7 separate regions of the Homo sapiens genome follow, and all the other regions are linked to region 7. The links are contacts of gene promoters, found by promoter capture Hi-C in blood cells and fetal thymus (Javierre and others, 2016). All regions are on one chromosome and are shown on one strand. The core of a region is centred on a gene start or on the middle of the fragment in contact, and the rest is flanking DNA. Distances in the headings are between cores, read along the strand shown. Region 1 overlaps WDR33 (WD repeat domain 33). Region 2 overlaps MGAT5 (alpha-1,6-mannosylglycoprotein 6-beta-N-acetylglucosaminyltransferase). Region 3 overlaps AMMECR1L (AMMECR1 like). Region 4 overlaps MGAT5 (alpha-1,6-mannosylglycoprotein 6-beta-N-acetylglucosaminyltransferase). Region 5 overlaps MGAT5 (alpha-1,6-mannosylglycoprotein 6-beta-N-acetylglucosaminyltransferase). Region 6 overlaps MGAT5 (alpha-1,6-mannosylglycoprotein 6-beta-N-acetylglucosaminyltransferase). Region 7 holds the start of FAM168B (family with sequence similarity 168 member B).

The links. The method cuts DNA at HindIII sites, captures the fragments that hold promoters and counts their contacts. A CHiCAGO score of 5 or more calls a contact.
Region 1: a fragment that was not itself captured here is called in contact with the fragment with the promoter of FAM168B in region 7 in 1 of 17 cell types (fetal thymus); the score reaches 8.9 in fetal thymus.
Region 2: a contact is called between a fragment that was not itself captured here and the fragment with the promoter of FAM168B in region 7, in 1 of 17 cell types (M1 macrophages). The highest score is 5.2, in M1 macrophages.
Region 3: a contact is called between a fragment that was not itself captured here and the fragment with the promoter of FAM168B in region 7, in 1 of 17 cell types (neutrophils). The highest score is 5.2, in neutrophils.
Region 4: a contact is called between a fragment that was not itself captured here and the fragment with the promoter of FAM168B in region 7, in 1 of 17 cell types (naive B cells). The highest score is 5.1, in naive B cells.
Region 5: a fragment that was not itself captured here is called in contact with the fragment with the promoter of FAM168B in region 7 in 1 of 17 cell types (M0 macrophages); the score reaches 5.5 in M0 macrophages.
Region 6: a fragment that was not itself captured here is called in contact with the fragment with the promoter of FAM168B in region 7 in 1 of 17 cell types (M1 macrophages); the score reaches 5.1 in M1 macrophages.

Annotation. Positions count from the first base shown.
Region 1 is chr2:127,802,001-127,805,348 of GRCh38, reverse strand. The region is part of intron 1 of WDR33 (WD repeat domain 33); the gene reads left to right. Among named protein-coding and RNA genes, the nearest start is that of WDR33, 7.5 kb to the left of the region's middle. The HindIII fragment of the contact is 9,275 bases long and covers 1-3,348 here.
Region 2 is chr2:134,401,162-134,404,568 of GRCh38, reverse strand. MGAT5 (alpha-1,6-mannosylglycoprotein 6-beta-N-acetylglucosaminyltransferase) reads right to left here. Exons shown (of 16, transcript NM_002410.5): 11 at 1,432-1,581. Among named protein-coding and RNA genes, the nearest start is that of MGAT5, 150 kb to the right of the region's middle. The HindIII fragment of the contact is 2,584 bases long and covers 362-2,945 here.
Region 3 is chr2:127,875,466-127,878,849 of GRCh38, reverse strand. The region is part of intron 2 of AMMECR1L (AMMECR1 like); the gene reads left to right. It also overlaps the pseudogene LOC107985803. Among named protein-coding and RNA genes, the nearest start is that of AMMECR1L, 8.8 kb to the left of the region's middle. The HindIII fragment of the contact is 3,899 bases long and covers 1-3,384 here.
Region 4 is chr2:134,419,752-134,423,011 of GRCh38, reverse strand. MGAT5 (alpha-1,6-mannosylglycoprotein 6-beta-N-acetylglucosaminyltransferase) reads right to left here. Exons shown (of 16, transcript NM_002410.5): 13 at 93-209. Among named protein-coding and RNA genes, the nearest start is that of MGAT5, 170 kb to the right of the region's middle. The HindIII fragment of the contact is 5,580 bases long and covers 1-3,260 here.
Region 5 is chr2:134,302,780-134,306,390 of GRCh38, reverse strand. All of the region lies in intron 2 of MGAT5 (alpha-1,6-mannosylglycoprotein 6-beta-N-acetylglucosaminyltransferase), which reads right to left. Among named protein-coding and RNA genes, the nearest start is that of MGAT5, 51 kb to the right of the region's middle. The HindIII fragment of the contact is 1,775 bases long and covers 577-2,351 here.
Region 6 is chr2:134,273,127-134,276,735 of GRCh38, reverse strand. All of the region lies in intron 2 of MGAT5 (alpha-1,6-mannosylglycoprotein 6-beta-N-acetylglucosaminyltransferase), which reads right to left. Among named protein-coding and RNA genes, the nearest start is that of MGAT5, 21 kb to the right of the region's middle. The HindIII fragment of the contact is 7,130 bases long and covers 1-3,609 here.
Region 7 is chr2:131,091,857-131,095,287 of GRCh38, reverse strand. It overlaps FAM168B (family with sequence similarity 168 member B), which reads left to right and starts at 1,828. Exons shown (of 7, transcript NM_001009993.4): 1 at 1,828-2,074. RefSeq lists a silencer at 1,655-2,374. The HindIII fragment of the contact is 2,381 bases long and covers 378-2,758 here.

The DNA.
Region 1 (3,348 bases), core at 461-2,960, 3.3 Mb after region 7:
GCACTTTGAGAGGCTGAGGCAGATGGATTGCTAGAGCCCAGGAGTTCAAGACCAGCCTGGACAATTTGGCAAAACCCTGTCTCTATTTTAAAAAAAGAAAAAAAAATGCTGGGTTTGGTGGCCTGCGCCTGTAGTCCCAGCTACTTGGGAGGTTGAGACAGGAGGATGGCTTGAGCCAGAGAGGTGGAGGCTGCAGTGAGCCGACATCCTGCTGCTGTACTCCAGCCTAGGCGACAAGAGAACCCTGTCTCAAAAAAAAAAAAAAAAAAAAAAAAAAAAAGAAAAAACTTCACAGGTGATGATACGTGATTTATGTTGTGAGGATATACTTCTAGCTATGAGCCTTCAATAAGGTGGTAGGGACTGCCAGATGTTAGCTTGCGTTATTTACAATGCCAAATTTACCTGGTTAATGTGTCCATTGGATTTCTTCATCAAAGAGGTATATTTTTCCCTTTGCAGTTATACTTGATCTGTGGGGTGATAACTTTAGCATCATGTGAGTACCTCACTTCTCAAAATATTTTTCACTTAATGATTGATGATTATTAGCTGAGTCATTTATTGGGGGTTTTCTAATTTTGTTATTTGTTTATATTCATTAACTGTTTTCTGTAATAAAGAGCTTTTGCTTTCCCCCTTTCGTGTTTAAATGTTTAAATTTTGAAATAAATATGAACTAACAGAAGAGTTGGAAGAATAGTTCAAAGAACTCCTATGTACTTTTTATTCTGATTCACCCATTTTTAACATTTTGTCACATTTGCTTTATTCCTCCCTTCCTGCCTCCCAGCCCCTCATGTATTATTTTCGGAGCCATTTAGTGTTATTCACAGATATGCACTTCTCCGCACTTCTCTGCTCAAGAACAAGTTAAGTACCCGCAATATTAACTAATTCTGGACATTGAACATTTATATAGTATTGAAAATTCATACTCAAATTTCTCTAGTTGTCTCAGTAACATCTCACAGAATTTTTCTTTCTCTAATCCAGTATCCAATCTAGATATTTCTTTTCTTTTTTTATTTATTTTTTGAGACAGAGTCTCGCTCTGTCTCCCAGGCTGGGATGATCTTGGCTCACTGCAAGCTCCGCCTCCCGGGTTCACGCCATTCTCCTGCCTCAACCTCCCGAGTAGCTGGGACTACAGGCGCCCGCCACCATGCCTGGCTAATTTTTTGTATTTTTAGTAGAGACAGGGTTTCACCGTGTTAGCCAGGATGGTCTCGATCTCCTGACCTTGTGATCCACCCTCCTCGGCCTCCCAAAGTGCTGGGATTACGGGTGTGAGCCACCGCACCCGGTCCCAATCTAGATATTTCGTATCTCTTTAGTCTTTAAGCAGGAGCAGGTATTTGGCCCTTATTGCTTTTGGTCTTTTTTTTTTTTTTTTTTTTTGAGACTGGGTCTCACTTCGTTGCCCAGGCTAGAGTGCAGTGGCAAGATCATAGCTGCCTGCAGCCTGGAACTCCTGGGCTCAAGTGATTCTCCTACCTCAGTCTCCCAAGCACCTGGCACTAACCCCAGTTAATTTGAGGGCTCCTTTGCTTTTTTGGCAAAACAATAACCCAAGTCCTTCTTGTCTTTTCCTTTCCTTTTGTATCTTCCCATTTCTCCAAGGAGTCCCAGTTCTTTTGGTAGAAAATATTATTTATAAACCAGGATTTGGATGCTTGGTGGTGTATGCATTTGCTTGTATGCCCTTTTCAGTGGACAGAGCTAGAAAACATGATATTAAAAATCATCAGCTTACATTGGTATTTTATTTTATTTATTTTTTGAGACAGTCTCCCTCTGTCACCTAGGCTGGAGTGCAGTTGTGCAATCTTGGCTCATTGCAACCTCTGCCTCCTGGGTTGAAGCGATTCTTGTGCCTCAGCCTCCCGAGCAGCTAGGATTACAGGCGTCTGGCTAATTTTTGTATTTTTAGTAGAGATGGGGTTTTACCATATTGGCCAGGCTGGTCTCGAACCCCTGGCCTTAAGTGATCCGCTCACTTTGGCCTCTCAAAGTGTTGGGATTACAGACGTGAGCCACTGTGCCTGGCCTACATTGGTATTTTAAATTCCTAATCAAAGTTAACATTAGTGGCATTTTCTACACAGAAAACAGAGTCAGATTTATAATGCCAGTATTTTACTAACAATAACCCTACCAAGTGCAGTTTTTTTTCCAGTCCTTTTTTTTCTTAGCGTATACTGCATTAAAGATGAACTTTCTTCAAAAGTTACTTGAAATAACATTTTTCAGCTTGTTTGTTGAATTTGTTTATTTTGATTATCAAATTTCACAGTTTTTGTTTGTATTCATTATTAGGGTTTGCTTTTTCTCCCTCTTAATTTAGTTTTTTTGTTTGTTTGTTTTTGAGACAAGATCTCAATCTGTTACCTAGGCTGGAGTGTAGTGGTGCAGTTTTGGCTCCCTGTAGCCTCAACCTCGCAGGTTTGGGTGATCCTCCCACCTCAGCCTCCCAAGTAGCTGGAACGACAAGTGCGCACCACCATGCCTGGCTAATTTTTTGTGTTTTTTGGTATAGTCTGGGTTTTGCCATGTTGCCCAGTCTGGGCTCGAACTCCTGGGGTCATCGGTTCCTCCCTCCTCAGCCTCCCAAAATACTAGGATTACAAGGCATGAGCCACTGCACCCAGACGTAATTTAGTTTTTTTAATACGTTATTTACATGGTTTAAAATCTACTGAAAAAAAATTTTTAAGCACCTGTGACCAAGAAGGAATAAAATTAAATACTATATTGAAAAAGTACTGGCTGGGCGTGGTGGCTCACATCTGTAATCCCAGCACTTTGGGAGGCCGAGGGGGGCAGATCACCTGGGGTCAGGAGTTTGAGACCAGCCTGGCCAACATGGTGAAACCCCATCTCTACTAAAAATACAAAAATTAGCCAGGCGTGGTGGCACATGCCTGTAATCCCAGCTACTCTGAAGGATGAGGCAGGAGAATTGCTTGCACCCAGGAGACGGAGGCTGAAGAAAAAGTAGTTAAGTCTTGCTTCTGTCTCTGAGCTCTGGAGTTCATTCCAGTTTTTACTGTGTATATTCTTATTTTCACATTCTTAGAAGAAAGTTGGCATGCTGTATATGCTTGTGACACTTGATTTTTTTTTTTATAAATTGTGATAAATGCATAGCAAAATTTTACTGTCTTAATTTTTTTTTTTTGAGTCGGAGTCTTGCTCTCTCCTCCAGGCTGGAGTGCAGTGGCGTGATCTCAGCTCACTCCTGGGTTCAAGTGATTCTCCTGCCTCAGCCTCCTGAGTAGCTGGGACTACAGGTGCATGCCACCACACCTGGCTAATTTTTGTATTTTTAGTAGAGACGGGGTTTTA
Region 2 (3,407 bases), core at 404-2,903, 3.3 Mb before region 7:
CGATAGTACATCAAGGGGCTAGCAGAGCTTTAATGTGCAATTAAAAAAATCATGAGTTAGGGCCACCTCCAGGACTTGACCCCAGTTTACTGTGGGCAAGCCAAACTCTGTAGCCTATTTCCTCATGTTCAAAATAAAGTTAACAATAATACCTGCTCTATCTACCTCTTAATGCTGTTGTGAGAATCAAAGAGGATAGCATATGTGAATACACTTTTTATAAATGAAGTATCACATAATGATTGGACAACTGAGATTATGCCCTAGAAGTCCACCTGCTCAACCTCTCTCCCCTACCTTGAACATGAAAACAAAGCGAGCCAGAGATGAGAGCTGAGAAATCCACTACTGAAAATAAGCTTCCTTGTGCTTAGGACATACCACAAGAGAGATCCATGTGCCTTCTTCACACTTGCATCCCTTGTACAACGCCTAGCACATTGCAGCTACTCAATAAATATTTGTGAAATTCATAAAAACTTATTAATAAACCTGAGGGAGTTTATCTAATACACTGAAATGCCAGCCAACCCTTCAAGGCCAAACTCTGGTTTCTTCACAAGTTCCCGAACTTCATTTGGTACTTCCATGGCACCATTACAGAAAAAACACAGACCACTGGGTGGACTTCCCTACAGTGTCAAAGCAACACGTCATCATGCTACTGCTGAGCAAAATGATCCTCAAGGGCTTGCCCGGCTACCTCCACCACATGGTGTGAACTCTGCCTCCATCTGTGCCAATCAGACCCTCACATTCCCTCATCCAATTTTACCTCCACTATTTTTCAACACTTAGACTAGCTGGGTTGGCTTCTAGCTCTTTCCTGAATATGCCACCTCCACCTCCACCACCTGACTCTAACTCCTGTCTGGCCCACATGCCAGGTGTGTCTACACTCCATCCATCTTTCATCTCTTGCATCTCTCCTGATGCTTGCTCTGCTTCCTGAGCCCACAGGGACTTTGCCCTCATCTGAACTTCTTCACTGTCCAATGCGTACTTGGTGAACAAGGAGGTATGAGGAAAAGCTGGTTGGGAAACCCACTCCTTGAACAGTGATGATTGGGTTGGGGGAAGAGTTCAGCACCCCTGGCTTACTATGAAAGCTGCTGCTCTATTAGAAAGTCTGTCCTTCCAGGCAGGGCTTTACCTTTTCCATTTGCAGCCTTATCCTTAGCCCCTTGCTTGACACCTAACACTGAGTAGGTCCTTAGTAAATACGATTTTTGAATAAATCAATGAAAAAAACTGTAGCAATCTCATTCCACAATTCACTTACTTTTCAGCTGCCATTGGTCTAGCAAACTGCTGCCCCAAAATAGCCACAAGAGTTTATTGCAGCATTGAAAAACAAGCATGAAATATTCTGATCCCATTTTCACAGCCAATGGCAATAACCTGAACACCACATCCGTGGTGAATTTTTACCTTGGTTTCTCGAAGAAGGAACTGCAGGTCCCGTCCACTGAGGATACCATGGTTTTTCACGTAACTGGGAATATTCTTTGTGCTGGAGCCATAAACAGTTGCATGCACTTCCATGTATGTGTGAATAATGTCCAAGTAGATCTTCTTATTCTAAAGAAGAAAACAAGCACAAGACATTTCTCTTTTTCTTTCATTTGCATAACAACCTGTATCATGGACTAGAACTTCTAAGACTAGAGGCCACAGACAGAGAGTTCTTAATATGGAGATCACAGGAATTTGGCAATCAAACTGCTAAAATTTCTTTGAAAAGTAATCTGGCTGGACTTTGTGGACATAAACAGTCATATAGCCATTGTATAATTTTTTAAGAAGAAATACATTATATGGCAACATATTACTGAATACCAACTGTATAATTTTGCAAGAGGAAATACATTATATAGCCAACTGTTTTGAAATATCATCCTTGCTTTGTAAATTACCACAGACCTAACAGTTGATTTTGGCTCTTCCTACCTCTAGGAGAGGAAGTTTGGGGAAGGACAGCCCGGGGAAGGCAGTCAGTTGGACTGCAACATTTACCCAGAGATGCTAAGCTGTCCCAGAGGAATACAAACATTCCCCAGCTCTTGCCAATGTTTCTAGTGATGATTAACTCATGTTGTCAGAACTGGATCCCACCTAATTTGGGATCATGGGAAGATGAGAGTTTCTCACAGCTGGAGAGATAATGAGAATACTCAGGTAGATAAAAGTAGAAAAAAGAGAATAAATGTAAATTTTGATGAGCCCTGAAACATTCAAGAGTAATTTTACTTATACTATTAGAAGCACAACCAAACCCCTTTTCTTGTATTTGTAGGCACTGAATTTTGAGGCACGTTTTCTAAATCAAAACCACCTGTGAAGTGGAAGCAAGTTCACCTTTTTTACCTCTGTGTTTCCCTGTGACTAAACTGTACAAGCTGGGGTTTGTGGGTTTTTCTTTTCCTTTTTTTGGGAAATTTTCAAAAAGTCAAATTCTGTAATGTTTTCCAGTTGTATAAAAGTGGGACAAGGTTTCCTCATTCTAAGCCTGTTTTCAGACACTCCAGGCAAATCTAATAATAGCTGGTTTTGTGACTTAAGACCACAAGGGACACAGGGGTGTGGTATTAGCAGCCACAGAGTGCAGGGAAGCCCGGAGGCAGGCTCTAAATGAAGCGATTCATGATCTGGTCTCTGCCATTCACTGCCCTGGTGATATTACAAAGGACCCTCAACTTCAGGAGGAACATTTCAAGTGATGTATCAAAAGTCTTCATGACTGGGAAAACTGCACAGTCCACATTCTTCATTTCATGAACCAGGATGACTTTGCTTGCAATGAGCAAGACCACCCTTGCCACCCTAATGTATGAATAAAATGAACAGTGGGACTGAAAGTTTAATTCCATGCCATGTCTGGTATGGCCGCAAGATGCTGAATTCATTAACTTAGAAATGTATAGTTTTAAATTAGTACAGAAGCTTACACCTACCTGGCATATGTTAGTTTGAAGGGTTCTAGGATATGGTTCTTGTGCTAGATGTATCTGGTAACTCCTGCCCCCACCCACAGCTCCTGTTAAGTAGGCAGGGGGCTCTGTTACCCTGTGCCCACTGCTGGCTGCTGACCTGCCCAGGGTGTGTCTGACCTGAGGGGACCCACTCCTAGGCTGGCCAGCAGCCCAGGAATGATGTAGCAGACTCAGGAAGGCAAGGGGAGCCAACCAGATGCTCTCTTGGGAACTCAGAATCCTGTATACAGGGAGATTACTGCCAGATGGCCACTGGCTTTAGAGCAAAAAGGTCATTTGAGCGTTGGAGTCTGGGCAATTACGAGCCAGATAACAAGTTCTGAGGAAGCTGGTTGCCAGTTTTGGCGGGTGGGTTGGGAAAAGAACCAAGTAAAGGCTAAAGGAGAGGGGAAGACGCAGACAGTCGGTCATAAG
Region 3 (3,384 bases), core at 647-3,146, 3.2 Mb after region 7:
TTTGGTCACTAAAACTCAACTGAGACTATCAGTTGAATTGGTTATTTAGTGGCCTCCAGAGAAATGCTTGGATCTAAAGGGCCAAAGATTGTGGTTGGTTCTGTTCATTGCAAATCATAGTTGGAAGATGTTGGGGAACTGTAAACACAACTGTGTAAAATCAACTGTGATTATGACCCACTGCGGATCAGTGATTGTATGTGGCATGTAGGCAGAATCTTCTGGACTTGAGTTCATCTGCATTGGTGTGGTTTGAAAATCCCTTCTGTTGCTCTGTGATGGAGTGTTTCACCAGTCAGGTGGCTGATACCACCTGGAAGAGAATGTCTGAGTTGTTGCCTCTATCTCACGACATTTAGCTTTTCCTTCAGGTGTGGTTTGGTGTAATGAGAATGATGAAAGGTTTTTTTAGCTTTTGCATTTTATTCTTTCCCTTCGATTCTTTGAATTCTGAGGCTCTAGAGGTGCAGAGCCTCAGAGCCCTATTAAAACACCAGCTCTCTGGGAATGCGGTCCTGCTGCTTCATCTGACCTGTATCTCTAGCTCGCTGCCCACAGTTGCACACAAAGTAGAGTCAAGTGAGAACTCAGGCTGGTGACACCCATCGTGGATTCAAATGACCCTGGATGAGGGGATAATTTTCCAGGTGATGGCTGAGATGTTGACTTTGGGCTTGGTTTTTCATATTGTTTTCCTGGCTCCATTTTTGTTGGCAAGATTCTATAAGCTGTTAGATTAGTTCTTAACATACCCTAGAAATTAAATTTTTATTTATTTATTTATTTATTTTGAGACAGGGTCTTACTCTGTCACCCAGGCTGGAGTGCAGTGGTACAAACATGGCTCACTGCAGCCTCAACCTCCTGGGCTCAAGGGGATCCTCTTGCTTCAGCCTCCTGTGTAGCTGGGACCATAGGTGCGTGCCACCATGCCCAGCTAATTTATTTTATGTAGAGACAGATGTCTCACTTTGTTGCCCAGGCTGGTCTCCAACTCCTGGGCTCAAGCCATCCTCCCACCTCGATCGACCTCCCAAAGTGTTGGGATTATAGGTGTGAGTCACCACTCCCAGCCCAGAATTTATTTATTTATTTTTTAATCCTGCCCTAAAGAAAGACTGAATCCAGTGGATATTATTGGCAGAACTCATTCTTTCTTGTAGTTCCAGGCCATACAGCCTGATACATAGATTGTGATCTAAATCCTAGTTCTGGCCCAGGTGCGGTGGCTCATGCCTGTAATCCCAGCATTTTGGGAGGCTGAGGTGGGCAGATCACCTGAAGTCAGGAGTTCAAGACCAGCCTGGCCAACATGGTGAAACACCATCTCTACTAAAAATACAAAAATTAGCCAGACATGATGGCACGTGCTGGTAGTCCCAGCCACTCAGGAGGCCAAGTAAGGAGAATTGCTTGAACCTGGGAGGCAGAGGTTGCAGTGAGCCAAGAGCATGCCACTGCACTGCAGCCTGGGTGACAGAGTGAGACTTTGTCTCAAAAAAAAAAAAAAAAATTCTAGCGCTGCCACTTAGTGGCAGTGTGGATGCTGTAAAATGTAAAATGATGGTAGCATCATCTGCCTTGTTGAGTGCTTTAGAGGATTCAGTGAAGCCCTTTTTGAAGAGTGTGTGCTCTGTGCAAGCTCTGCTGTAAGCCCAGAGTGCACAGCCAAGTACTGGCCCCCCAGGAGTTGCCCTCCTAGAGAACAGTGGAACAAGAACCCAGATGATAAGAGCAGCTAAAAGTATTGATGCTTAACACATACTAGTCACTGTTTTAAGCCCTTTATGTACATATATATATATATATATATGTATATATATATATATTTGGAGACAGAGTTTCGCTCTTATTGCCCAGGCTGGAGTGCAGTGGTGCGATCTCAGCTTACTGCAACTTCCACCTCCAGAGTTCAAGTGATTCTCCTGTCTCAGCCTCCCGGGTAGCTAGGATTACAGGCATGCACCACCATGCCCAGCTAATTTTGTATTTTTAGTAGAGATGAGGTTTCTCCATGTTGGTCAGGCTGGTCTCAAGCTCCTGACCTCAGGTGATCCGCCCACCTCGGCCTCCCAAAGTACTGGGTTCATAGGCGTGAGCCAGGGCGCCTGGCCTCTTTACATATGTTAAACTCATTTAATTCACCTAACCCTAGGAAGCAAATACTATTATTATTCCTGTTTTGAGTAAACTGAGGCAGAAAGAGGTTAATCGTGGAGGAACCAGGATTTGAGCCCAGGCCACCTGGCTTTGGAGGCAGCATTTTAAAAAACCAAGGCACTCTGCTTCCCCTCTCAACAGTCCAAATAAGACAGTGACATCCATGGTCAGAAACAGTGTAGTCATTGGAGGTTTTATTATATTGAGTATGTAAGACTTTCTCAAAAAGAAGCCAGGTGTGGCTCACACCTATAATGACAGCTACTGGGGAGGCTGTAGTGAGAGGATCCCCACCGCACACCGCACCGCCCCCCTACCACCTTTTTTTTTTTTTTTTTTTGAGACAGGGCCTTGCTCTGTTGCCCAGGCTGGAGTGCAGTGGCATGGTCATAGCTCACTGCAGCCTCAACCCCCTGGGCTCAGGCAATCCTCGCTCCTTAGCCTCCCAAGTAGCTGGGACCACAGACATGTGCCACCATGCTCAGCTAATTTTTTTTATTTTTTGTAGAGACTGGGTCTCCCTGTGTTGCCTATACTGGTCTCAAACTCCTCGGCTCAAGGAATCCTCCTGCCTCGGCCTCCCAACATGCTGGGATTACAGATATGAGCCACTGTGTCCAGCCAGCGGGTGGGGGGGCGGGGCGGGGAGCGGATCCCTCCCTTGTGGCCAGGAATTTGAGACCAGCCTGGACAACATAGTGAGACCCCCATATCTCCAAAAAAAAAAAGATAGCTGGGCATAGTGGTGTGTACCTGCAGTCCTAGCACTTTGGGAAGCTGAGGCGGGAGGATCACTTGAGTCCAGGAGTTGGAGGCTGTGGTAAGCTATGATTGTGCCACTGCACTCCAGGGTGGGTGACAGAATGAGACCTGTCTCTTAAAGAAAAAGAGAGAGAGAGAGAGAAGAGGAGAGGGGAGGAGAGGGAAAGAGAGAAGCCCCTATTTCAAGCAAGGCATGAGAATGTACAAGCTATTATTCTTCGGCCACAGAGAGCTTTGATCTCAATCGGAAATGCCCTTGATGTGTATTTTGTTATGGATCAGCATATATGAAGAACATAAATAATCCTTGTAAAATGTTTATATCATTCAACGTAAAGTGACAAGTTGTTTAGAAATAATGGCATTGCAGATGGGTGTGTAAATATTTAATTTGAAATTTAAAAGGTTGAAGAATTTACACCTGAAATACTATTTGTAGATCAATGCCTAAAAAGATAATTA
Region 4 (3,260 bases), core at 1-2,500, 3.3 Mb before region 7:
ATCTGTTTGCTAAAAACAAGGACCTATGATGTGTTTTATACACATTTCAGGTCACATTAGAAAGGAGGGAAAGTGGAATAAAATGAACCAACCTTCTGATTTAAAATTGCTTTCACTGCATCCTCTACTTCCTCCTGATTGTTGAGGTCAACAGTCCACACATGTGGCCGCCCGATGAAAACTTCAGCGTAAGGATGCTGGGATGTCAGCTGGAAAAGAACCGAACACCTCAGTCTCACAAGCAATTTTTAAAATAACCTGTGCTAGATGGAGTGCTATGCTTTTTATGGTACTGAGTTATAATCGTGTAGGTAACAAGACACTGTGTCCTTCCCCTTGATGATCAAAACCATCCATAAGCAGATAACAAAACAGTGATGGTTCTGTACCTTGAATCCCACTTGGAAATAAGATAATGTCACAACCAGGTGACAAGGAAGCTGCTACAGGAGGCTTTAGCCCCCAACATCACATCAAGAAATGATGAACAGTTTCTCCTACCCAGAACCCAGCCCCGAAAATCACCTATTACTAGATCAAACCAGTATCTATTCTCCTGGCTAAGACAGAAAGGTCAGCATAGACAATTACAAGAAAAATCAAGGCTTTTAAAGTCCCAGGAGGCTAAGTCATGGTGCATACAAAAGGTGATAGAAAAAAATGACACCATCAGAAATACACAGAATTTTTGGGATGGTTTCAGGAATAATAATTAGCATAATATTCAGAAAAACAAGGAATGGCAGTTTTTGTCCTAAAGGGGGTTTTATTTTAAAAACAACATGTGGTCAAAGAAACCAAGTGCAAACCATGACAATTCTGAATTCATGAAGTGTCCATTCTTCTTTTTTTTCCCCAAAGGGTCTTGCTCTGTTGCCCAGTCGTAGTTCACTGCAGCCTCAAACTCCTGGGCTCAAGAGATCACCTTGCCTCAGCATTCTGAGTAGTTGGGACTACAGATGTGCACATCATGCCTGGCTAATTAAAAACAATTTTTTTTTTTTTTTGTATACACACGGTCTCTGTATGTTGCCCAGGTGGGTCTCAAACTCCTGGCCTCAAATGATTCTCCTGTGTCCGCCTCCCAAACTGCCGGGATTACAGGCACAAGCCACTGTGCTCAGTTGAGTCCATTCTTTAATACAGCTAAATTTATCCCCTGATTTTGTTTCCACCTCTGTCCTCATATCCCTTTAAGGTCATGTTGTAAAGGGAGCATTCTAGCCACGTGTGAGAGCATTTTCAGCTACCATAATAACTGGAGAATGTTACCCTTAGTCTGTGGGTGGGAACCAGGGATATAAGCACTTCACAATGTCCAAGGACAGTCCTGCACAGGAAGAATTGTCCACTGCCCACGAAACTTTCAAATGGCCTGCAGGGCTTTCACGTGGGCTTAGAGAATCTAGTTTTTTATTTTTTTTTTTTGAAACAGAGTTTTGCTTTGTCACCCCAGCTGGAATGCAGTAGTATGATCCAGCTCACTGCAACCTCTGCCTCCTGGGTTCAAGCAATTCTCCTGCTTCAGCCTCCTGAGTAGCTGGAACTATAGGTGCGCACCACCATGCCTGGCTAAGTTTTTGTATTTTTAGTAGAGATGGGGTTTCATCATGTTGGCCAGGTTGGTCTCGAACTCCTGGCCTCAAGTGATCCACCTGTCTCAGCCCCCAAAGTGCTAGGATTACAGGCATGAACCACCATGCCCAGTCAGAATCTAACTTTTTGACAGTTCAAACATACATTGAATTATCCAGAGACATAATCACCATGTAAATGAAGCAATGTCTCTGCTCTGTTTTATCTGAAACGTCACCAATGAGCTGTCATCATTTCAGAAAGATCAAAGCAACAAAGTCAGTGCCACTGAGGATGTCAGAGTCTCCAGTAAAACATACCCACATTAGTCTATATTTGGAGCTATCACATTACTGGCAATTCTATTTATATGTGGGCATACGTAAACACACTCAGGCTTCGCTCCTCCTTCATAATGTCAATTTTAAGTAAAAAGGCTGACCATATTCAGCTGAATGTTTCATTCCTTTTAAATAAAAACACTCATTGTGAGGAGAAACAAGGCATCATAGTGCCTGGTATAGCTGTTGGGTATGGGACAGCACAGTTCTTGATTCCATAATACTGAAATATGTATTGCTTTATTAGAAATTCTTTTCCTTTTATTTCTCCTTTATATTTGTTAGAGAATTATTCCCTTTTGAAATTACACGGGTAGGCAAGGTTATATAATTTACAAATTTCATCTCATATTTATAACAATAGGAAATATTGGGTTTGCCAGTGCTGAGGCCTTTGCTTTGGAGGTCAAGCTGGCTCTTCTCTTCTCCTCAGGCCTTTGCTTTGGAGGTCAAGCTGGCTCTCCTCTTTTCCTCAGGATACTCACAGGGCTAGAGGAATTAACTGGCACCCCTCCGTCTTTCCCTTAGCCACTGTTCTTTGTATCCTGCCACACCAAGAGCATGCATGTGCTATTCAAGGCAGGAAGCCCGACAAGTCCCTGGGCCCAGCAGTGAGCCTCTGCTGACTGCAGGTTATCTGGGCCTCTATCCAGCAGCAGCCCGTCATCAGTCTCTTCAGTTTCCCGCCCTTCTGACAGGTGCTGTCTTCCTCGGCTCAGCTCTATGGTCAGTGATAAAAGCTACAGACTCTCTGCAGGCCCACGGAACTCAGAAAACTTCCATTTTTTTTTCTCTGCACACTTCTGAATTCAACACTTACCAAGGAAGCCCTACGCTTCCTGCTAATCACCTGCACAAACGTTATTTCTCAGGTTTATTATGCATCAATGACGATTCTGAGACTGAGAGGCGATTACATTTCCCCTAAGACCCCACAGCTGGAAAGGAGAAGAGCCAACTTCAAATCTAGGTCCTTCAACAACTTCTTAGCTTTGGATAAAAAGGAAGGTGACAATTTTAAAGGATGTCTTTAAGTTCTTAAGACAAAGGCCCAATGTAAACACCAGCTTTTTAATCCAGCTCTTACAACTTGCCAACCTAAATTCAGGACTGAATTTATGCCTGTATTTTCTGAAGATGAGCAAAATGTCACATCATTTTCATTTTGTGGCCTGGAGAACTGATTAGATTTTCTGACGGAATCAGGGTAAGTTAAAGTTGCCATCAATGTCACTATTTAGTAATTTACATGTCAGCAGTCTCCCTCCTCTCCTGCCTTTTAAGGTCTCTGCTTATTTACAAGGTTGCTCCAAGCACTTGGAAAATACAAAATGCTGAGCTATT
Region 5 (3,611 bases), core at 215-2,714, 3.2 Mb before region 7:
AATAGCAAAACAGTGTATGCTATATATATTCTAGCAGCTTTGAGACTGGAAGACAAAACTGAGTTTGTAATATAGTTTGGATAATTAGAGTGCTTTTTAATGCAAAACTCTGCATGTATTCATTTCTATGTAAATACCATTTTCTGTAAGTTTATATTTAATTTTTGCTATCATTTCTTCTGCAACAAAATGTTCCTTAGTATTTTAAGTAATGATGTAAAGGATATGAAATATTCCACGTGGGTATCATATATGTACTTAGTTACAACAAATGGGCCTAATAGGAAATAAACTAGGAGAATGCTAGTTTTATACATCAAAACAAACAAAAAGTTATACAGATATATTCCCAGAAAAAAAAGTTTCTATACATACATTTAAAAGAATAAGATATAATGCTAACATACTGAGACAACCTCAGCTGTCAATTTTGATTTAAGAAAATATACTGAGAAATAGGTGGGAGACATTAAAAATTCAAGATACTTGCAAAACTGTATTATATTCTCGAGTTGGGGGCCTAAGGTGATATTTATAACGATTCTCCTTTTCCAATAAACAAAATAGTGCCAAGCTTTTGCCAAGTCCCCTCTTCTCACATGCAGTTTACTAGAAGAAGGAAAGGGTGTTACACAGATAACTTACTGTAACAGTGACATGCCCTTGCAACACAGAGCACCCATATCTCACTTCAACCTCTCAAAGAGAGGTTTGATTTTTCTTCTAAAACAGGGTTCCATGTTAAGCACAGTTCATAGATTTCTGCCTGTTCTTATCAAACTGTCAAAGGTGTCTTGAGTTTGGATTTTGTTAAAAATGAAAAGCAAAGCCATACATGTAGTTTATGTGTGTATATTTGTATTTCCTTTTTGCAACTGAAGAAGAAAAGAAATATGGAATCAATAACTGAGAGAAGGCTAGCTATATCCTTGGGCTGTTTTAAGATAGTATAAATTGCCCAAAATAGGTGTGTGCTCTTCATATCACACAATGCCCACTTTCTGAATCACTTGTCACAAGCGTCTTATAGCTGTTGGTTAGAAACAGGGATTCTATCTGGCCAGCCAGACATCTAGAGGCAAGGCGGAAGTGCTTCGACTATTCTCTTAACAGGAGATCAAGAAAAATTTTTGTTTTCACCGTCTCGCATAAACTGAGGTTTTCATTTTGTTTTGGTTGCTTGGTTGTGGTCTCTTACCTTACTTTTTTAAACAGAAAAATAAATTGCAAGATAATGCAGAATTGAGATGACACCTTGATAATAAGGTTTTGGTCCTAGAGAAAGTAGGACAGAGAGAATGTATAAAAGAAGCTGAAAGCCAGAATATTTCAAACACCCACAAGCACAACAAATTCTTGGGTACGGTTTGAAGAAAGGCTAAAAGCTATTTAAATTGTAAGTCTACTGTGACTGATCCAGAGTGATATGAAACCTACAAGCCATTGGCATAAAATATACATGCCAAGCCTGCTAGGTAATGTCCTTGGCTAGGATGCCTCTTAAAAACCAGATTGTGCCAGGTGCAGTAGTGCATGCCTACAGTCCCACCTACTGAGAAGGCTGAGGCAGGAAGACTGCTTGTGCCCAGTAGGTTGAGACCAGCCTGGGCAACATAGCAAGACATGTTAAAAAACAAAAAATCAGGCTATCTTACAACTTAATTCCTTAGAACTTCTCCCGGCCCTTAGCAGGTATTCCTTCATGTAGAAAAGAACATGCTTTGTGTTAAGACCATGTAAATTTGGATACCAATACTCTGCTTGTAAAGTTAAGAGACTAATGTGCATATTCTGGGATGTTACAAGTATTCTTATAATCCTGGAATGCTATTCATCAACTCCACATAAAAGGCTAATGAATTTGTGAATGCAGGTTATTCCCAGTAGGAAACACAAAGGTTTTCAACTGCCTGGGAATTTGTTCGTTTCAGCAAGTAGTCTGTTCCCAGATGAATATTTGGTTTTTGAGTTAGCTCTTAGAAGGCACTGATCCTCAGGTGGTGGGATTACTACCTGAAAACCCATTCACCATCCCAGTATCCAGAATAAAGTGCAGTCCCTTGCTTACCCTCCAGCCATGGCATCCGGATAGGAGAGCAACTGTTAAATACATACGGTCCTTGCCAACCTAGAAATGGTGGTTATTGTATATTGTACCTAACAGAAAAGAGCTAGCATGCATACCAAAACCAGGGGGAAGGCAGCACTGTGGTAACAGATAATTCAGACAGCTTCCCAGCCCAGAGCACGCTGCTAAACTACACTACCTGTGTAAGATCCACATAACAGTTAACCTAGGATTCTTTAAAAACAAAGCAGAGAAACTATGCATTGGCAATAGCAGAGAAGCTTGTATTGGAACAATCTTCCCACAGATAACACTTACAATATGACACTAAAGAGTGAGGGAAAGTGAGCAGAAACTAGAAGGGATTTGATCCTTAAATTCTTTCTGGAAACTACACTGAATAAGACTCACATTTATATGGCTGTGCCCCAGAGGGGACTATCAAGTCTGGAAGGTAGCAAACAAAAGGCTACAGTCTCACTGGCTTGAGGTTTCATAGAATGAAGTTTTGCATAGTAGTGAAAAATTAAGGTAGCATATTCCCAAAAAGAGGGAGCCCAAAGAGGAGAACCCCAAAGTCTGTATATAAACTACCTTAAACTTCTTGAGCGACCCTAAAACTAAGCATTTGTGAGGGAGGCTCCAATAAAAGTTCAAAGTATTCACAAGACTTCAGCTGCTGCTCACTGCAGGGCAGCCACAGTTTAAACCCCAAAAAGTCAAAGGGTCAACATTTCAGGCTTTCCATGAAACCCCAGAAGGGCCTCACATCAGGCCCAGGACTTCAGATGGTCCAAGACTAGGGAAAAAAATGGAAACAGACACACCCTAACAAATCATAAAAGCAAGTCTTCTTAAGTTCAAGGCAGTAAGTCAGTAATTTAACTGCCTACTAGAAAAAAAATCAGTACTCTTCAGAGGAAGTTTACCGAACCCAGACACTCTATAGCATATCCTTGTCATGTCCAATACATAATAAAGAATTATTAAACATGTGGAGAAACAGGAAAACGTGAACAAGGCAAGAAAAACAGTCAACAAAAACAAGATGACGCAACTGTTGGAGAACTAACAAAGAATTTAAAGCGGTTATTATAAATAAGATTAAAGACAAAGGAAAAACGGTCATCAGTGAATAAAAGATCAGTAAATTTGAAAAACAAAAAAGGAAATTACTTAACCTAAAAACAGAGACATTCAAGACTAAGACAAATAAAACACATAGAGTCTCCATGACCTGTGGAGAACATCATGTAGGCGAACCTTTGTGTAAACGGATGCCCAGAGGTAGAAAAGAGAAAAGAGACAAAAAATATTCGAAGAAATAATGGCTGACAACTTCCCAAATATGTTGAGGAACATTAACTTCAGATCCAGCAATTCAGTGAACCACAAGATAAAGACAATCACATTTATTATAATCAAACTGCTAAAAGCAAATGAGAAAGAGAAAATGTTGAAAGCAGACAGAGAAAAACAAGACACATTACATAAAAGGGAACAAAGATGGCAATGTCACCTGACATCTCGTCAGAAGAAGGAG
Region 6 (3,609 bases), core at 411-2,910, 3.2 Mb before region 7:
TTATTCTCTGGAAATACAGACCTCACACCTATTCATCCTCCTACTTTAAACCTCTCATCAACTGCCACGGCCCAGGGAACAAAATAGAAACTCCTTCATTTAACATTGAAAATGCATCACAAATCCCAATTAACTCTCTAGTCTCATTTTCTTCAATATTGCTCCAAGTATGCTGTCAAGGGTATTTTCTGATGTAAAGTAGATCTTTGGGGACCTGTCTTGTTTTCTTTAACTTATTTAATTTACTCTCTCATATCTTGATAATTATATACTTTGCTTAAAATAACAAAGAATTTCTTCTAAAACATTCTGCAATTTAAACCCATTCTCTAAGACTACTTTGTACCATTGTTATCCGGAATTAGTGGTCCTTTCACGAGAAGAAATAATTACCTTCTATAGAAGCAGAAGTAAAATGTACATTGCCAAAAGCACACTGTGGGCCAGGAAAGGAGTTCCTTAAGGGCAGGATCCTAAAATAGTCTTCTGGGAGTTTCTAAAATCTCTTTCCTTGGAGGCCTCCAAGACCAGTGGCAAAGCTAAATGAGGTGGAGATTGGCGGGCGGCGGGGGTGGGGGGGCTTGTGAACAGCCTTGCTAGGAAAAGGGAAAGGAACTTTAGGTCTCAGCTGGCAATCAGGAAACTTCAGCGTCTCAGGCGTCTTTCTGCACTAACCATAGGTGAAAATATCTGCTGGCACCAGATTCTAACAGTATCTCATAGATCGGAATTTCACAAACCTGCCACAATTGACATTTGGGGCTGGATACTTCTATTATGGGCAGTGTCTTATATATTGTAGGATGCTTTTTGCAGCATCTCTTGTCCTCATCTATTAGAAATAAATAGGCCAGTCACAGTGGCTCATGCTTGTAATCCCAGCACTTTGGGAGGCTGAGGTGGGAGGATCGTTTGAGCCTAGGAGCCCAACCAGCCTGGGCAACATAGCAAGACCCCATTCTCTACAAAAAATAAGAAAAAAGAATTTGCCGGGCATGATGGCACATTGCCTGTAGTCCCAGCTACTCAGAAGGCTGAGGCGGCAGGGGGTGGGGACATGGAAGGTCGAGGCTGCAAAGAGCTGTGATAGTGCCACTGCATTCTGGCCTGAGCAACAGAGCGAGACTGTCTCAAAAAAAAAAAAAAAAAAAAAAAAAGGAAATAGCACCTCTTCATTTGTGAAAACCAAAATGTGTCCTGACATTGACATGTGTCCCCTGGGGGCAAAATCGCCCACAGCTGTTAATCACTGCTATAAATTCACTTCCTCAAAGATCACCATCACTTCTGAACTGTCTTTCTTCTTCTAAATAAAAACAAAATATCCTTGACCACACAAAGTGAAAACCATACCAACAAAGACAAGCATTTTTCTGTAAAGATACCAAAAGAATAGCTTCTGACAAGGGTCCACATATTTATTGTTACCATTGCAAATAACAAAACAGAAAGTGACAGGTAGATAGACAGAACATATTTGCTTCTTGCTCAACTTAATAGGAAGCCACCTGCAATCTCATCTCTCTCCCGTCTCTCAGTAGCATCTGGGATCTCACTGACATACCAGTATCTGACCCTGGGAAAGTCATCTGCTGAGCCACTGCCCAGGGGTGGAGCTGGGACACTTCAGGTGCTACTTCAACACAAACTGATGACATGGGTACACATACAAGGAAAGAGCACAGGTACAACTAAATTTCAAGGTCCATTAGCAGCACAAAGAGGGGGAAATTGCACTTCCAAATGCAAGCCCTGGAACTCAGCAGGGACATTTTTCATTTTCAACTTTCAAATGGTAAGAATAATAATAATGGTTGCTGTTTTTAAGAACAGCTTCCAAATTCAAATACATTGCACTTCAACCCCAAATACTAGAAAGTGTTGCATATCGCTCCCCACTTTGGAAAAAATGCAGGGTTGCTGTAAGTTCAACTTGGATTAAATACCAGGAAACTGTCGCTTGAGTTATACCTGTACCTTTGATTTTGTGGTTCTGCTTCCCAAGTGACCTTGCAATTATTAAGTCATCACAACACCACTTGGATGCTATCATTATGGTTTTGGCTTTTAAGGAACAGTCAGCACTGGCCAGTTATTCAGCTGACCTTGAATGACAACTCTTTATTGAGAGTATAAATAAATGTGTACACATGCACATACATACACTACCCCGTAGAGAGCTACACAATGTTCTTGTCCTCTAAAGTATCACAATCTAGGATTGTAACTATCACATCTAGGATTGTAACTATCACATCCTATGAAGCCTCCACATCCCATAACCATTGATGGGAAGTTCAGTCCTGACCAACAAAAAAGGCAGTCCCACTTCTTAGGCGGTGTCTGCTAAGGTCTGAGAACTAGGGAAACGAAATACCAAGTCCGACTTCTAGGCAAATCACCACAAATGTAAATTGAGAAGAAGAACTATAAGAAGAAACTCTTCCAGGTGGTGAAACCAAATGCTGTTCCCTCCAATAGAAACCAATCCATGTGAGCAATATTTACTGAATTATCTTCAACAGGTAAGGCTACAATCAAGACACTATGGGCAGAACAAAGATATATCAGACATTCAGTCCTTAGAAGGCAAGCATTTTCATGATCAGATATGTATACTTTTTACCTTTTCCCCATTTCAGGTACATGACAAAGAACCACAGATCCAATCCTATTCGCTCCACTTCCTCACTTAAGATCACAAAACTAGAGAAAGACAGAATGGGTCTTTCTAAAATTCAAAGCATCATTCTAAAAGGAGAGAATTTTGACGAAGGCCCTTCAAGCCCTTTCAGAAAGTGAATATGGAGAAATTAATTTACTGTGTGATTGGTGGAAGGGTGGGGATTTTAAAAATCTGCTTTTTCATTCCTTTGAGTCCCCTTTCTCTTCAACAAGACAAACAGAGCTCAAAAATCCAGTTCAATCTGATTTCTTGATTTTAATAAAGCTCATTTCCACCTAAATTTCCCTAGGGGCAAATTTACTTTCACATTAAAAAACCCTCGGTGATAAATTTGTGAAGATAAGCCATACTGGATAAAAGCTACACAGAACACAGCTAGAGAGAAAAAATAAGGAGACACACAGACACACACACACACACACACACAGAGCTATCCCCCTAAAGAAAATAAATTTAGGGAATCCTTCTTCAATTGCTATGGTACCCAATTTAGAGACAGTTTATAGCCAACCAGAAGATATATTAGCAAGCAATAAGACACAACAATAAGCAATCAGAAACATCAGTGAGCAATAAGACACCAGAGTCAGCTGTAAAGACACACCAGGGAGAACATTTCTGAGCAATTACCGCATGTCTCCATTCAGGAAGGGAGAGAGAAAAACTTTACTTGGCGAGGATTGGAACCCCATAAAACTGAACTCTCACAGCTCAGGAGCCATTCTTGGGTTGACAGAGGGGTCTGAAGACATCAGCATGGTTATGGATCAGAGAGAGGGCAGAAAAGCAAGGAAGGGCTGCTCATAAATGAGAACTGTTCACTTAAGTCCTTGTCCTTCTTTCTGGTACTCTATAGACATGGCAAATCGTTTTTTAAAAATATGTAGTTGACTGACAAGATATAAAGGACCCCCCCCCACCTT
Region 7 (3,431 bases), core at 579-3,078:
ACATCATCAGACGATCCCCTTTCCCATCCAGCAATGTCTGAGAGTGCGAGCTTCCTGGCAGCCTTACCAATAGCATTGTCAATTTTTTGGATGTTTGCCAATCACAGTGAAAACTGCTACCTCAAAGAGTTTTAACTTGCATTTTTCTTTATAGAAGTGAGATTGGATATTTTTCATATGACTAACAGCCAGACTTAGTCCTTTGCTGTGAACTCTCCTTTTTCTATTGGGTGGTAGGGCTTTTTATTGTTGACTTCTGGAAGCTTTTGGAATATTAAAGAGATTAGCTTTGTCTATTACATGTGTTGGGACTATTTCTTCCTTGTTAATCATTTATCTTTTGACTTTGCTTATGGTGCTTTTTGCCGACCAAAGCTTTTCATAGTCATGACTTCTGGATTTCAAGTAATAATGTAGAAAAGCCTTCTTTACTCCAATACTAAAAAGGAATTTCCCCATGTTTTCTTCTTGTCCTTTTATCACATTTATATTTTATTTTTATTTTTTTTTTTGAGACGGAGTCTTCCTCTGTCGCCCAGGCTGGAGTGCAGTGGCCCGATCTCGGCTCACTGCAACCTCCGCCTCCCGGGTTCAAGAGATTCTCCTGCCTCAGCCTCCAGAGCAGCTAAGGTTACAGATGTGCGCCACCACGCGCAGCTAATTTTTGTATTTTTAGTAGAGACGCGGTTTCACTATGTTGGCCAGGCTGGTCTTGAACTCCTGACCTCGTGATCTGCCCGCCTCGGCCTCCTATAAGTGCCGGGATTAAAGGCGTGAGACACCGCGCCCATCTGTTTTTATTTCATAAACGACTGAAAAAAGACCAGAGCCAGGCCTCCTCCCTTCCATCACTAATCTTTATTGCAATAACTCCCTCCTTTGTCGTCCTGTACCTAGCTCAGACCAGACGACACCCCAAACACAAACACCAAGACACGCACCTCTTTAATACGAAATAATAAACATACCTCCCCCAGAGAGACACCCTGAACTAACCAAATCATTGTAACTATACACTAAGCCTTACATAAAAATACTAACATTTGGCCGGGTGCGGTGGCTCACACTTGTAATCCCAGCACTTTGGGAGGCCAACGTGGGTGGATCACCTGAGGTCACGGGTTCGAGACTAGCCTGACCAACATGGTGAAACCCCCGTCTCTACTAACACAAAAATTAGCCAGGTGTGGTGGCGGGCGCCTGGAATCTCAATTACTCAGGAGGCTGAGGCAGGAGAATCGCTTGAACCCGGGAAGCGGAGGTTGCAGTGAGCCAAGATCGCGCCATTGTACTCCAGCCTGGGTGACAAGAGCGAAACTCCGTCTCAAAAAAAAACCAAAAAACCCCCTAACATTCTAGTACACTTCCCTGAACTCTTGTCTATAGAAATGATCCCGCACTTCTACACTTGAAACGCTGACTTGCATTCTCTAAAATCTGCACTCCTGAGCGGGCGCCCGCAGCCTCCGCACTGGCAAAGAATCTGTGAGCTGAGCTCCGCCCCGCTCCGACCCCGTAGTGGCGGTCACCCGGGGTGTGCTCGACTCCCGGGTGCGGCCTGAGGATCCGCGCCCTGGCGTCTGGGCACACACAAAGGTTTCTGCGGCGCGGGACTATCTCAAAATATAAATTAAATACTTTTTTCACAGACAGTTAATAAAAAAACTACAGCTACACCCGGCCCTTTCGCCAACTGGGACCGGCCCACTCCGCGCTCGCGCTCGCGCTCGTCCATCCGGGCGTCTCGAGGGCGCCGGCGGGAGCGAGCACGCTGCGCAGTCACGTGCCCGGCGCGCCCCCGTCGCGGCGCGCTCAGGCGGAAGTGAGGTCGGCGGCTCCGGTGGCTGCGCAGCGTCGGCGGGGAGCGCGGGCTGCGGAGAGGCGGGCCGGGCCAAGCGGAGCCGAGCGAGCGGGAGCGCGGCGTCCGGGAGGCGGCGGAGACGCGGGGCTCGGAGGGTCAGCCTCTTATCGTAGCAGGTCTCCTCGGCACGCCCCCCTTGTTTCGCCCCACGGCCAAGCCCGCCGCGGGCCGGCGTGCGCTGGTCACTGAGGCCCAGGTCGCCGCCGCGGCGCGGTGAGTGGGGGCGGGCAGCGGGCGACTGCGCGTCCAGGCCGGAAGTGCGGCGCTTTGTGCGGCCGGCTCGGGGCGGCGCCAAGGTCGGCCCGCGGCTCGGGGTCGCTGGGCGTCTGGACCGGCCTGGGCTGCGCTTTGTGCCGCGGGCAAGGCCGGGCGGGGGCCGGGGGCGGAGCTCGGCCGGACACGTACGCGTGCAGGTGCGGTCCGGGCGGCGCGGGCCTGCCGCCTAGGTGGCCGAGGTGGCTTCGCGGCGCGGGGCGTTCTCCTAAAGGTCGGGGTCACAGCCGTCAGGAATGCGAGCGTGAAACCCGGGGGCAGAGCTTTGTGACAATAGTCATTTCCAATGTGTAACTGCTCACTTTGTCTACCCACGAAGTAAAGATAATTTTTATTTTTATTTTTTTGCTTGGCGGAATCTGAGCGTTCTCCTTCCAGCTTGAAAAGGCACGATTTAAATTACAGATTTTTAAGATTTCCTTCAGAAAGGACGTTTCGTGGCCTAGCCTGGGTTAACTTTGAAAAAAGAGTGCAGTGCGCCTTTACGACGTCCACAAATAAGGGTATTTCTGTTTTATAGTGTATGTGAACATGAAGTGTGCATCTCATGGGCTGTTTGAGTTAATGTTTAATCATTAAAGTCAAACAAGAATATTTTGCAGTGTTTTCGCATGCAAGGAAGCTTTATAAATAAAAAGGTTTATATAGTTTCCACTCCTTAAACTTTCAGGTCATCCTTGTGTAATTTGAGATCACTTTTCTCAAATACTATGGATGAAAGATTCTAGATTAAATAAAACTTTTTGGTTTTGGCAAAAACAGGACACATTTTTAAGCTCTTGTAGATGAAGGAGTGGGTTATTTTTGCTTTGACAGCCAAGATTTGAGCAGTGTAAGGCTATTCTAATTTTGAAGCTAGTGTTGCAGAAATTGTGAAGATCTTGCTTCTCTTTGTCTTTACAAAGCAGGCTTACTTTGGTGGAGTTCCGTAGTTTAAAGGGAAATTATACCCAAGTTGTCTTAGACAGTTTCTTTTCCTGGATCAATTGAGCACTTTTTTTTTTTTTTTTGAGACGGAGTCTCCCTCTGTTTCCCAGACTGGAGTGCAGTGGCGCCATCTCGGCTCACTGCAAGCTCCGCCTCCCGGATTCACGTCAGTCTTTTGCCTCAGCCTCCCAAGTAGCTGGGACTGCAGGCGCCCGCCACCACGCCTGGCTAATTTTTTTGTATTTGTTTTTTTTTTTTTTTAGTAGAGACGAGGTTTCACCGTGTTAGCCAGGATGGTCCCAATCTCCTGACCTCGTGATCCGCCCGCCTCGACCTTCCAAAGTGCTGGGATTACAGACGTGAGCCACCG